2 separate regions of the Homo sapiens genome follow, and region 2 is linked to region 1. Evidence: promoter capture Hi-C in human tissues and cell types (Jung and others, 2019). All regions are on one chromosome and are shown on one strand. The core of a region is centred on a gene start or on the middle of the fragment in contact, and the rest is flanking DNA. Distances in the headings are between cores, read along the strand shown.

Region 1 (6,603 bases), core at 1,593-4,092:
AAAAAATAAAAAAAGAAGAAGAAGAACAAGAGCTGGGCATGGTGGCTCACACCTGTAATCCCAGCACTTTGGGAGGCCGAGGCAGGCGGATCACAAAGTCAGGAGTTTGAGACCAGCCTGGCCAATATGGTGAAACCCCATCTCTACTAAAGATACAAAAATTAGCCAGGCGTGTTGGTGGGTGCTTGCAGTCCCAGCTACTCGGGAGGCTGAGGCAGGAGAATTGCTTGAATCCGGGAGGCAGAGGTTGCAGTGAGCAGAGATTACGCCACTGCACTCCAGCCTGGGTGACAGAGCAAGACTCTGTCTCAAAAAAAAAAAAAAAAAAAAAAAAAAAAGAAGAAGAAGAAGAAGAAGAAGAACCCAGAAACCCCCTCATGACCTCTTCCATCACAACCCCTCTGCTGCCACCACCAAGGAAAGCCCATTCTGGCTCCTAATACCTAAACTAGTTATTTCTATTTGAATCATAGAAAAAGTGACTGGGTGCACTGGGTGCTCATGCCTCTAATCCCAGCACTTTGGGAAGCTGAGGTAGGAGGATTACCTGAGCCCAAGTTCGAGACCAGCCTAGGCAATGTAGTGAGGCCCCATCTCTCCAAAAAAAAAAAAAAAAATACAAAAATTAGCCAGGCATGGTGATGCAAGCCTGTGGCCCCTAGCTACTAGAGAGACTGAGGTGGGAGGATCACTTGAGCCTGGGAGGCCAAGGCTGCAATGAGCCGGGGGGGGTGACAGAGAGAAACACTGTCTCAAAAAAACAAACAAACAAAGAACAGAAAGAAACACTGAATCATACAGAAAGCATTCCTTTATGCCTGACTTCTTCTCTTTTTTTGAGACAGCGTCTCGCTCTGTCACCCAGACTGGAGTCCGGTGGCACGATCACGGTTCGCTTCAGCCTCAACCTCAGCTATCCTCCCACCTCAGCTCCCCTAGCAGCTAGGACTACAGGCATGAGCCACTGCACCTGGCCTGTGCCTGACTCCTTTCATTCAACATTATGTTTAGGAGATTCAGCCATGTCTTTGCTTGCCCTTTTACTTCATTCTCATTCCTCCACAGTATTCCATTGTAAGAATGTATCACATATAGATGGGACTTCCAGAATGACTGAGTGAGGAAGCTCTGAAACACCCACCCACCCACACAAAGCCCTCATTCTTTTCTCATTAAAGTTCAAGACTTTTCAAAGTAAACACTTCTCAATTTGTTACATACTGTGTTAGTTTTTTCTTTTTTCTTTTTTTGAGACAGAATCTCACTCTGTCACCCATTATTCTACCTACTACTTATAATTTTGATCAATCTCCAGTTTTCAAATGATTATTTTTTCTCACAGTTTTGCAGTTTTGTTATAAGTTTTTGTAGTTTGTTATAAGTTCTGCTAAGTTTTGTATTTTTAGTAGAAATGGGGTTTTTCCATGTTGGCCAGGCTAGTCTCAAACACCTGACCTCAGGTGATCCACCCGCCTCAGCCTCCTACAGTGCTGGAATTAGAGGCATGAGCCACCGTGCCCTGCCAAGAAAAATTATTTTTAAGAGAACCAATAGAAATTCTGGATTTGAAAAGTATAGTGTCTAAAATGAAAATTTCCCTGGAGGGGCTTAAAAGCAAATTTGAGCTGACAAAATAAAGAATTGGCAATCTTGAGGATAGATCAGCAGAGATTATACAAGCTGAATAATGGAGAGAAAAAAGACTGAAGAAAATGAACAGAGACTAAGAAGCCTTGGCCCATCATCAAATGCACCAACATCCAGGTAACAGGACTCTGAGAAAGAGGGAAAAAATAGAGAAATGGGCAGAAAAAATATTCAAAGAAAAAAATGGCTGAAAAATTCCAAAATTTGATGATAACATTAATCTACACATCCTAGAATCTGAATGAGCCAGAAGTAGGATAGACTCAAAGAGATCCACACATGAGCACGTTATAATTAAACTGTTGAAAAGAAGAAAATAAAAACTTGAAAGCAGAAAAGAAAATCCATCATATACACAGAAATGACAGTAAGATTAACACATGACTTTTGTCCAAAACAATGGAGAAATACACAACAAACTAGGAATAGAAGGAAACTACCTAAGCATAGTTATGTGCAGATTAAAACAAACCTGATAGTGAAAGACTGAAAGCTTGTTCTCTAAGACCAGGAATAAGTAAGGATGCCTGCTTTCACCACTTCTAATAACATAGTACTGGAATCCTAGCCAGAGCAATTAGGCAAGAAAGAGAAATAAAAGGCATCCATATTGACAATGAAGAAGTAAAATTATCTCTGTTTGAAGATGACATGATCCTATATGCAGCAAACCCTAAAAATTGCATCCATTAAAAAGCTATTAAAACTAACAAACAATTCAGTAAAGTTGCAGGACACAAAATGGTCACATAAAAGTCAATTGCAGCTGGGTGTGGTGGCTTATGCCTGTAATCCCAGCACTTTGGGATGCCAAGGCAGATGGATCACTTGAGCTCACAAGTTCAAGAACAGCCTGGGCAATATGGCGAAACCCTGTCCCTACAAAAAGTACCAGAATTCACTGAGTGTGGTGGTGCACGCTTGTGGTCCAAGCTACTTGGGAGGCTGAGGCAGGAGGATGGTTTGAGCCTGGAAGGCAGAGGTTGCAGTGAGTCGAGATCGCACCACTGCTCTCCAGCCTGGGTGACAGAGCCAGATCTTGTCAAAAAAAAAAAAAAGCAAACAACAATTGCATCTCTACACACTAACAATTAACAATCTGAAAATAAAATTAAGAAAATAATTCCATTTACAATAGCATCAAAAAGAATAAAATATGTAGGAATAAACCTAACCTAACCAACAAGATAAAAGGCTTATATGTTGAAAACTACAAATGTTTCTGAAAGAAACAAAGACACAAATAAATGGAAAGACATCCTATGTTCATGGATCAAAAGACTTAATATTGTTAAGATGTCAATAGTAACCAAAGCAATCTACAAATTTAATCCAATCCCTATCAAAATCCCAACATCATTTTTAAAAAAAATTCTAAAATTTATATGGAAACTCAAGAGAACCCAAATTGCCAAAATAATATTGAAAGAGAAAAACAAAGTTGGAAACATCACACTTTCTGACTTAAAAACATACTACAGGCTAGGCAGGGTGGCTCATGTTTATAACCCCAGCACTTTGAGAGGTCAAAGCAGGAGAAATGCTTGAGGCCAGGAGTTTGAGGCCAGCCTGGGCAACAAAGTGAGATCCCATCTCTACAAAAAATAATAATAATAAATAAAAATAAATAATAAAACATACTGCAAAGCAACAGTAATCAAAGCAGTGTGGTACCAGTATAAAGACAGACATATAAATGGATGGAACAAAATACAGAGCCCAGAAATAAACTCTTGTTCATATGGTCAAATGAGCTTTGACAGGAGTGAAAAGACTATACAATGGAGAAAGGACAGTTTCTTCAACAAATGATATGGGAGAACTGAATATCCACATACAAAAGAATAAAGTAAGATCCTTACTTTATACACCATATACAAAAATTAAATCAAAATGGATCAAAAACCTAAATGTAAAAAATAAACTATAAAACTTTTAGAAGAAAACATACAAGAAAGCTTCATGACATCAGACTTGGCAAGGATTTTCTGGATAATCATACCAAAAGCACAGATAACAAAAGTAAAAATAGATACATTAAACTACATCAAAATCTAAAACTTCTGTGCATCAAATGACACAATCAACAGAGTGAAAAGACAACCTATAGAATGAGAGACTATATTTGCAATTACATATCCAGGGTTAATATGCAAAATATATGAGGAACTCGGCCAGGTGCAGTGGCTCACGCCTGTAATCCCAGCACTTTGGGAAGCCAAGGCAGGTGGTTCACCTGAAGTCAGGAGTTAGAGACCAGCCTAGCCAACATGGTGAAACCCCATCTCTACTAAAAAATACAAAAAATTAGCCAGGTGCGGTGGTGTTCACCTGTAATACCAGCTACTTGGGAGGTTGAGGCAGGAGAATCGCTTAAATCTAGGAGGCAGAGGCAGCAGTGAGCTGAGATCGCACCACTGCACTCCAGCCTGGGTGACAGAGTGAGACTCCGTCTCAAAAAAAAAAAAAAACATATATATATACACATATATATATATATATGTATATATATATATATGTATATATGAGGAACTCCTGCAACACAATAAGAAAAAGACAAATAACCCAATTTTAAAATGAACAAAGGACTTGAATAGGTATTTCTCCTAAAAAGATATACAAATGGCCGGCCAGGCATGGTGGCTTACACCTGTAATCCAAGCACTTTGGGAGGCTGAGGCAGGCAGATCACAAGGTCAGGAGATCGAGACCATCCCATGAATGGTGAAACCCCATCTCTACTAAAAATACAAAAAATTAGCTGGGCATGGTGGCGGGCGCCTGTAGTTCCAGCTACTTGGGAGGCTGAGGCGGGAGAATGGCGTGAACCCAGGAGGCGGAGCTTGCAGTGAGCCGAGATCACGCCACTGCACTCCAGCCTGGGCAACACAGCAAGACTCCGTCAAAAAAAAAAAAAAAAAAGCAGATAGACAAATGGCCAAGATGAAAAAACGTTAAACATCATTATTTATTAGGAAACTGCAAATCAAGACAAATATCAACCCACACCCATTAGGATGACTAATTAAAAAAAAAAAGACAGAAAATAACAAGTGATGGCAAGGATGTGGAGGAATTGGAACTCTTGTTCACCGCTGGTGGGAATATAAAATTGTATAGCCACTATGGAAAACAGTATGGTGGTTCCTGAAAAAATTAAAAGTAGAATACTATGTGATCCAGACATTCCTTTTTGGGGTATATATCCAAAAGAATTGAAAGCAGGATCTTGAACAGATACCTGCACATTCATGTTCACTGTGGCATTTTTCATAACAGTCAAGAGGTGGAAGCAACCCAAGTGTCCATCAACAGATGAATGCATAAACCAGATGTGGCATATACACAAAGTGAATATTATTCATTAAAAAGGAAGGAAATTACGACACGTACAACATGGATGACTTTGAGAACATTACGCCAAGTAAAATAAGCCAGTCTCAAAAGGCAATACTGTATAATTCCCCTCATGTGAGGTAACTAGAGTAGTCAAATTCACAGAGACAGGAAGTACAATGGTGGTTGTCAAAGGCTGTGGGGGATGAGGGAATGGGGAGCTGTTTAATGGGCATAGAGCTCCATTTTGCAAAAAAGATGTTCTAGATACTGCTCACACATCATTGCGGGTGTAGCTGACACTAAGAGATCGAGCTGACTGGTATCTCTTCTGATGAGGATACTAATCCTATCAGATCAAGGCTCCATCCTTATGACCTATTTAACCTCAATTACTTCTTTAGAGGGCCCATCACCAAATACAGCCACACTGGGGCTTAGAGTTTCAACATATGGATTTTTGGAGACACAAACATTCAGTTCATAACAAGCAACTGGGAAGGTGGAATGTGATTGCTAGAGTTTCCATGTTACATCATTTTATTTTTTTCTTTTATTTCCGTGGGACCCTGCTTGATAACATGTTGTATCATTTTAAATTTCCAGTTTTTAATTTAAAAATTTTGGAGACATGTCAAAAAATGGGAAAGTATGACCCATACATTAGGTGAGGGAGAGTAGTCAATAGAAGCTGTCTCCTGAGGAAGCCCAAACATTGAACTGTGAGACAACAGCTTTAAGTCAACTATTATAAATATGTTCAATGAACAAAAAGAAACCATGTCTAAAGAATTAAAATATACAATGTCTCACCTATAGAGAATACCAATAAAGAGATAGAAATTGTAAAATAAGGAACAAACAGAAATTCTGGAGTTGAAAAACATAATAACTGAAATGAAAAAATTCACTGGAAGGGCTCTAAAGCAGCTTTGAGCTGGCAGAAGGAATAATTTGTGAACTTGAAGATAGGTTAATTAAGATTATTCAGTCTCGGCCAGGCGCAGTGGCTCACGCCTGTAATGCTAGCACTTTGGGAGGCCAAGGTGGGCAGATCACCTGAGGTCAGGAGTTCAAGACCAGTCTGGCCAACGTGGTGAAACCCCATTTCTACTAAAAACACAAAAAACAGCCGGGCATGTGGTGGTGCATGCCTGTAATCCCAGCTACTCAGAGGCTGAAGTGGGAGAATTGCTTGAACCCCAAAGGCAGAAGTTGCAGTGAGCCGAGACTGTGACACAGCCTTCCAGGCTGGGCAACATAGTGAGACTGTGAGACTCTATCTCAAAAAAAAGAAAAGAAAATAAAAAGAAAGAAAGATTATCCAGTCTATAAAATGGTAGAGGGCAGGGAATGAAAAATGTGAACAGAGCCTCAGAGACCTGTGTTATGCTATCAAACACACCAACGTATGTGTAGTGGGAGTCCCAGAAGGAGAAAAAACAGTAGAAAAACTATTTGAAAAAACAATGGCTGAAAGCTTTCCAAACTTAATGAGCAACATTAATCCTCACATTTAAGAATCTCTCAGTGTGAAATTGGGTTAGGAAAAAAAAAGAATCTCAATGAACTTAAAGTAAGATAAATTCAAAGAGATCATCACCTAGACACGTCATTATA
Region 2 (6,424 bases), core at 3,924-6,423, 120 kb before region 1:
CCACAAACAAACAGAAAAACAATAAAGGATATTTGGGGAAAAACTAGGAAAATCTGAATATTGATATTACAGATTAATGCTAACTTTCTTAGGCACAATGAAAGTGTAGTTATGTAGGAAACTATTCTTATTAGGAAATGCATGCTGAAGTACTTGGAAGTGTTAGGATGTCTGCAACTTTCACACAGTTCAGCAAAAATAACAATTTGCATATGAAAAATAAAGCAAATGTAAAATATTAATTGGTAACTATAGGTGAAAAGTAAAGGGTATTATTTTAGTTTTTCAACTTTTCTACAGATTTTCAGAAAAAGCCAGAGAGAGAGAGAGACAGACCATGCCATCTTTGTGCAATAAATACTAGAAAAAATTTTAATGAAAGGAACTGCTAGGTGATAGAGCATGCGTATCTTTATGTAAGATATCGCCAAATTGCTCTTAATTGGTTGTACAACGGTCCCCACCAATATCTATGTTTTATTTATTAAAAAACAAAAATCTGGAGATCTGAAACAAATAGGGCAAAATGTTAAAATGTGACAACGTAGTATTAGGTAGAAGCATGAGTATTTATTACACTAGCTCCATGCTTTTCTGTGCTTGAATATTTCTTTTTTTTGAGACGGAGTCTCACTTTGTCACCCAGGCTGGAGTGCAGTGGCGCAATCTCGGCTCACTGCAAGCTCCGCCTCCCGGGTTCATGCCATTCTCCTGCCTCAGCCTCCCGAGTAGCTGGGACTACTTGGGAGCGGGACCACGCTCGGCTAATATTTTGTATTTTTAGTAGAGACAGGGTTTCACCGTGTCAGCCAGGATGGTCTCGATCTCCTGACCTCGTGATAAACCCGCCTCGGCCTCCCAAAGTGCTGGGATTACAGGTGTGAGCCACTGCATCCAGCTGAATATTTCTTTTTTAAAAATACACACATATTTATAAGATATATCAAATTAGCCATCACAAAAATGACATGGCCCTTGAGAATATTAGAAAATGGACTGATTCTGGATCACCCAAAGCCATCAAGAGGGAGTAGCCTTAAGCTGCTGTGTAATGCAGCCTAGTGAAAGGATGAAGGTAACCGACTCCTATCCTACTCTCTCCAAACTCTGAAGGCCTGTTAACATGCCATCAGGGAGCAAACACGACCAGGAGGAAGGGGGTGAGACACTAAGAGTGTGGCCATGTTTAAGCAGCATCACCTGCGAGGGAGGGGACAGCATGAATCTGCAGACACCAGGACTAGTCCCCCAGGAGCTGCTCTTGTGAGACAGCTCCCATTCCCTCTGCTCCTTGCCTACCCCAACCTTCTGTTGACTCCTGTAGCATCCTAAGGCCCCTGCTACTGGGAAGAGATGCTTTGGAAGGAAGAACCTCCACTCTAAGTATAAATGGGCACTGTGGTGGAGCTGCCTAACAACACTCCCTGATGTTCTGCGTGCTAATCAATCTGAAGCCCCATCAGAACGCAGGACCAAGGCCTGCCCAGGCTCTAGACAACATCTCCACGTTGTTGTTCCAGAACTACAACAGTATTCAAGCTGGATGCCAAATGTCAGGAAAAATCCCTTTGAGAACCAAAGCCTCCCCACCAAACCTCACATTCCACCCAATCACACAACATACCCGAGAGTACTGCAGCTTGTCCACAATGTCATCACTAATGAGGGGAATTAATCCTGTAAAAAACAGAAAAGCACTTTAAAGAAAACCAAACAGCCAAGCCAAAATGAGAACCCAGAAGCCTTCTGGGGGTGAGGCTGGAAGGAGGCCCCCTCCTGACACTAGGCACAATACCCTCCCTTTAACCTCCTAGTAAAAGGAGTACTCACCAAGCCTGTGAGCAATGAATTCATCATGAAGAACTGAGGAATTGGCATCAATCTGAACCCAGTCAATGGCTAAAAAATGAAAGAAGCAGACATGGAGTTTAGCCATCAAATTTACCTACAGACTTAATGCAGTGGTTCTCAAGATTTAGGAATCACCTGACACTAAACTGCAGATTGCTGGGCTGATTCCACAGCATTAGAGTGGGGCCCAGGTACTTGCATTTTAATAAGACCCACACACACCACACCTCACCTCCCTGCCCAGGTGAATTTAATGCAGGGGGCTCCCTGCTTCACAGAAAACACTGACTTATAGAATATCATAGAAGTGGAAACATGTTTATTTGAGCTGAGTATTTGCATGAGAAGCACTTAAATCTGCTACCTGTGCCACCACTAAATCCAAGAACATGAACTATTTGAGCACTTCAAAGTCAGGGAAACCCTCACAGAAGCAACACAGACTTATGGGGCCATACCTCATTTTAGGATATAATGACTGGACTGCCCAACTTAGCACTTTTTAAACACTCAATCAACAAATGTTTACTGAATTCTTTTAATGCGCAAAGTATACTAAATATAGAACCCAATCCCTAGCAGCAATGAGCTCGTAGGAGGGTAAAGACTGTATTATCGATCACACATGCTTGACTTAAACACACATTTATTCATTCATAAACATTTGCATGGAACCAACTAAATCCAGGAATCAAATGGCACTGGAGCCCAACTGCCAAACGAGGGACACAGACACTAGGAACAGCGGTCGGAAGAGGACCTCCCCCTGCCAGGCCTCCACCTGCTCTGTCCTGCTATGCTTCCCATTGCTTCCCCAGTCCAAGCCAACTGAGAGAACCCTGACCCAAGCTTTTCTGCCTCTTTAATCCCCCAGCCCTTCCCTCCAGCACACCCTTCCCCTCCTTGCTGTACAGGTTAAGATCCTCTGTGCCTCCTGAAAACTAAGCCTTGCCTGCTCTCTATGCTACAGATGTGACATTCCCTCCCTTTCAACTCCTCTCTCACAAAACTCTGTTCAGACTTCCCTCAAGACACTTGTCATAGTGTGCCTTGTGTCATATTTGTGTATGTTATGTCTATACCTCAAGCTTCAGAAATTCCTTCACGCAGGTCCTGGGATGTCTTTGTATTCCTAGCATGGGTGCTCAATATTATTTGTAGAACTGAATTTGTTGGGAAAGAGGCATTTAGACTCAGAATGGCAGGGCTGCATCATGAAGTACAACTCCCTCACCTGACTCCTGATGAAACTGAGGTCCAGAGGCATGAAGTGCTTAGGCAGGGGGAGGTCCAGCACTCCAAGCTGAATTTAAGAAGTGACTGGGGGGCGGGGGGGTGGGGTGGTGGTGGTAGTGGATAAACTACAATGTTCTCTTGCCTAATCATTTGGCCTGCTTATTTCCTTAAAAGTCTGAATATTTGATGCCACAGCTATGACTTATATTTATTTTGCCTAATCCAAACTCTCTGAGCTGACTCTCAGAAATGCTTGAAGTATTTCATACAAGTATAATCAATGCATTAAGCACCTGGAGCAGAGTGGCTGGAACCAGACCAGAAATTGATCTTCCCTCCTCTAAGAGCCAAGTGCACCACAGCTATGCTTCTCCTGAACTACTGATCAAAATCTACCTTGCTTTAGTGTTGTCTGTGGATTCATCTCTCCCCTACAACCTCACTGTGGACTCCATGAGGGCAAAAACCCTGTTCTCTACAGCTTTGCATTCCCAGAGCTTACCACCATGCCTGCCACTTTCATGCTCCATAAATGCTGTTGAAGGAATAGATTAATAAAAAAGCCATCTACCAGCACTGAGCACTCACTAAACACAAAGCACTTATATGGATTACCTCACTTAATCCTTAACATTACCCTGATAAGGATCATTAGTGGCCGAATGTTACAGATGAGGAAACTGCAGCACACAGAAGTTTAATAACTTGCCCAAGTTTCACAAAAGCAGTAAGTGATGCAGCCATAAGAACGAACGAAATCATGTCCTCTGCAGCAACATGGACGTGGCTGGAAGCCACTATCTTCTTTTTTATTTTCTTTTGTTTGAGAAGGAGTCTCACTCTATTGCCCAGGCCAGAGTGCAGTGGCATGATCTCGGCTCACTGCAACCTCCACCTTCTGGGTTCAATCAATTCTGCCTCAGCCTCCCCAGTAGCTGGGATTACAGGTGGGAGCCACCACACCTGGCTAATTTTTGCATTTTTAGTAGAGGCGGGCTTTCCCCATGTTGGCCAGGCTGGTCTCAAACTCCTGGCCTCAGGTGTTCCTCAGTCTTGGCCTCCCAAAGTGCTGGAATTACAGGCGCGAGCGCGGCCTGGAAGCCATTATCCTAAGAGAATTAACACAGGAACAGAAAACCAAACACCGCATGGGAGCTAAAACTGGGTACGCACGGACATAAAGATGACAATAAACACACTGGTGACTACTAGAGCTGGAAGGGAGGCAGTGGGGCTAGGGGTGAAAAACTACCTATTGCGTACTATGCTCACTACCTGGGTGAAAGGATCATTTATACCCCAAATCTCAGCATCACGCACTATACCCAGGCAACAAACCTGCACCAATGTACCCCTTGACTCCAAAATAAAAGTTGAAAACATTTTAAAAACTTTTGTAACAATAGTAGTGAAAACAGTATTTGAACCCAAGTCTGCACACTGCTAAACCCATGCTTCTCAGCAATGCATACCCAGGACAAGGGTGGACCTAAGTGGCCCGTGGGCGCCAGGGAGGCGGCCACTGAGCCAAGGGCACAGGGTATGGTCAAGTCTCCAGCAATGCACTTTTCTCAGCACTACCACCCTCAGCCCGAACCAAGGACTGGAAGGAGCCCCAAAGAGTGTGTGGGTGGAGAGCGGGGCAGGAACCCGTGGGCGCGGGAACGAGGAAGGGGAGTCGCTTACCTATTATGGGAACCTCAGCGATGAAGACCCTCCGAATCGAATTGGCCACCCTGAAAGATCAAAAGCCAAGGGGCGTGAAGGCGCTGCAGCCTCGACAGGCTGGGCCCGCGCCGCAGGCTCCCAAAGCTAAAGCCCTGGTGCAGGGGGGCAGCTCTGGAAGGACATCGCCCCCACCCCACCCCACTACACCCCCGCCCCCTGCCCCGGGGCCCCGGCTTGGGCCTCCCGGCGCCCCAGAGCCGCCAGCCTCTTCCCTCGGTAGCCTTACGCCAGGTCGGTGTTCTCGATGATGAACTTGACATTCTCGTCAGTGAGCTCCGTGATCCGCACGGTAGGCTGGTTGGCGTACGGCATCTCGCCCAGGGGCCACCAGCCTCCGCGTCTGCTCCGCGGTGACTGCGCGGCGCCACCGCCAACACCGGAAGTCAGTCAGCGAGGCCTCCGCGGCTTCCGCAAAGACGACTCACAGCGCCGCCTGCTGCTCGGAGGCCAGAACTGCCGAGCGTCTTCTGCGGCCTCCTGCTTTAAAATGTACCAGATTCAGCTATCTCGGAGGGTAGTTTGGCAAAACACGCATACGTCCTTCACTTAACAGTAACACTTCTAAGAATTCATACTGCAGAAACACTTGCAGTTGTAAACAAAGATACGAGTGCAGGGACGTTCGTGGTAGTACTGTTTGTACTGTCCATTGATAAGAGACCTGGTGGAGTATACACACATGGAATACTATGAAGCACTTAAAAAGAACTTGTACATCTATAGAAAAACAAAAGTATATTTTAATATGAATGTATATTTTAGCAAAGTATACCTGAATTATAAGTAAATACCCTTTCCCTTGCAGTCTCAAGTATGGACCATGCACTTCTGAAAACTTCAGGAAAAGATACAATGTTCTTTAACCTAATGCTTCCTCTACAGTCTGTGTAGCTGTGGTGGGTGAGTGGGAACTCTTTGTCTCTGCATCCCCAGTGCCTGGCAGTGGGCACCATGTGGGGTGCATGCTCAACAAAGAACTACTGAAGTCCCCTAAACAGACTGGAGAGAGGTTTAAATGGGCCTCAAAAAAAGTGGCTGCTGCTCCAACAGAGAAAAGCTCTAAAATAGAACGTGGCAGGAAATACATTTAAGAGTTGGGAGAAGAGTAACCAGATAAAGAGGAGTTTGCCTTTGCAAAGAGTGACACCTCTTCCTGAAACAGAGGGTGGGCACTGATGGAACCCTGCTCCATAACCTGTGTCATCTTGGTAAATTAAGAATTATGGTTGTCTGCTGAGTGTAAGATGGATGCTATGAAGGAAAAAGGAGAATGCAATGAAAACTGGAACAGCTACTGCGAAAACTTCACAGGATGTCAAGAGATACAAGGAATTGAGAGGTGCAAAAAAGATCCAGTGGAAGACCCACAAGAGATCTGAAATTCAATTAGTTGCTGACTTTCCCCCATTAATATTCAGCTGACAGGCAGAAGAGAGCAAAGCAGAAAACAGAGCTAACCAGACGTGCAAAGGGAACCCAGCCAGTGTAGAGGCTGAGAAAATTACTGGGGCTAAAGAATGTACCACTAAAATCGTCAGACAAGAGCAGCCAAGGGAGCTGATGGTCTGTGGGAAGGCTTCTGTTACCCGTATTTTACTGATGGGAAGAC

The links. The method cuts DNA at HindIII sites, captures the fragments that hold promoters and counts their contacts. A contact is called where the count stands out against the background at its distance.
Region 2: a contact is called between the fragment with the promoter of POLR2C here and a fragment that was not itself captured in region 1, in 5 of the 25 tissues and cell types used here (IMR-90 fibroblasts, dorsolateral prefrontal cortex, liver and 2 more).

The regions. Positions count from the first base shown.
Region 1 is chr16:57,334,055-57,340,657 of GRCh38, reverse strand. No RefSeq gene overlaps it. Among named protein-coding and RNA genes, the nearest start is that of CCL22, 21 kb to the left of the region's middle. The HindIII fragment of the contact is 4,385 bases long and covers 650-5,034 here.
Region 2 is chr16:57,461,428-57,467,851 of GRCh38, reverse strand. POLR2C (RNA polymerase II subunit C) reads right to left here and starts at 5,173. Exons shown (of 9, transcript NM_032940.3): 1 at 5,042-5,173; 2 at 4,774-4,823; 3 at 1,831-1,899; 4 at 1,625-1,677. The coding sequence starts at 5,127. RefSeq lists an enhancer at 5,021-5,315. The HindIII fragment of the contact is 18,274 bases long and covers 1-6,424 here.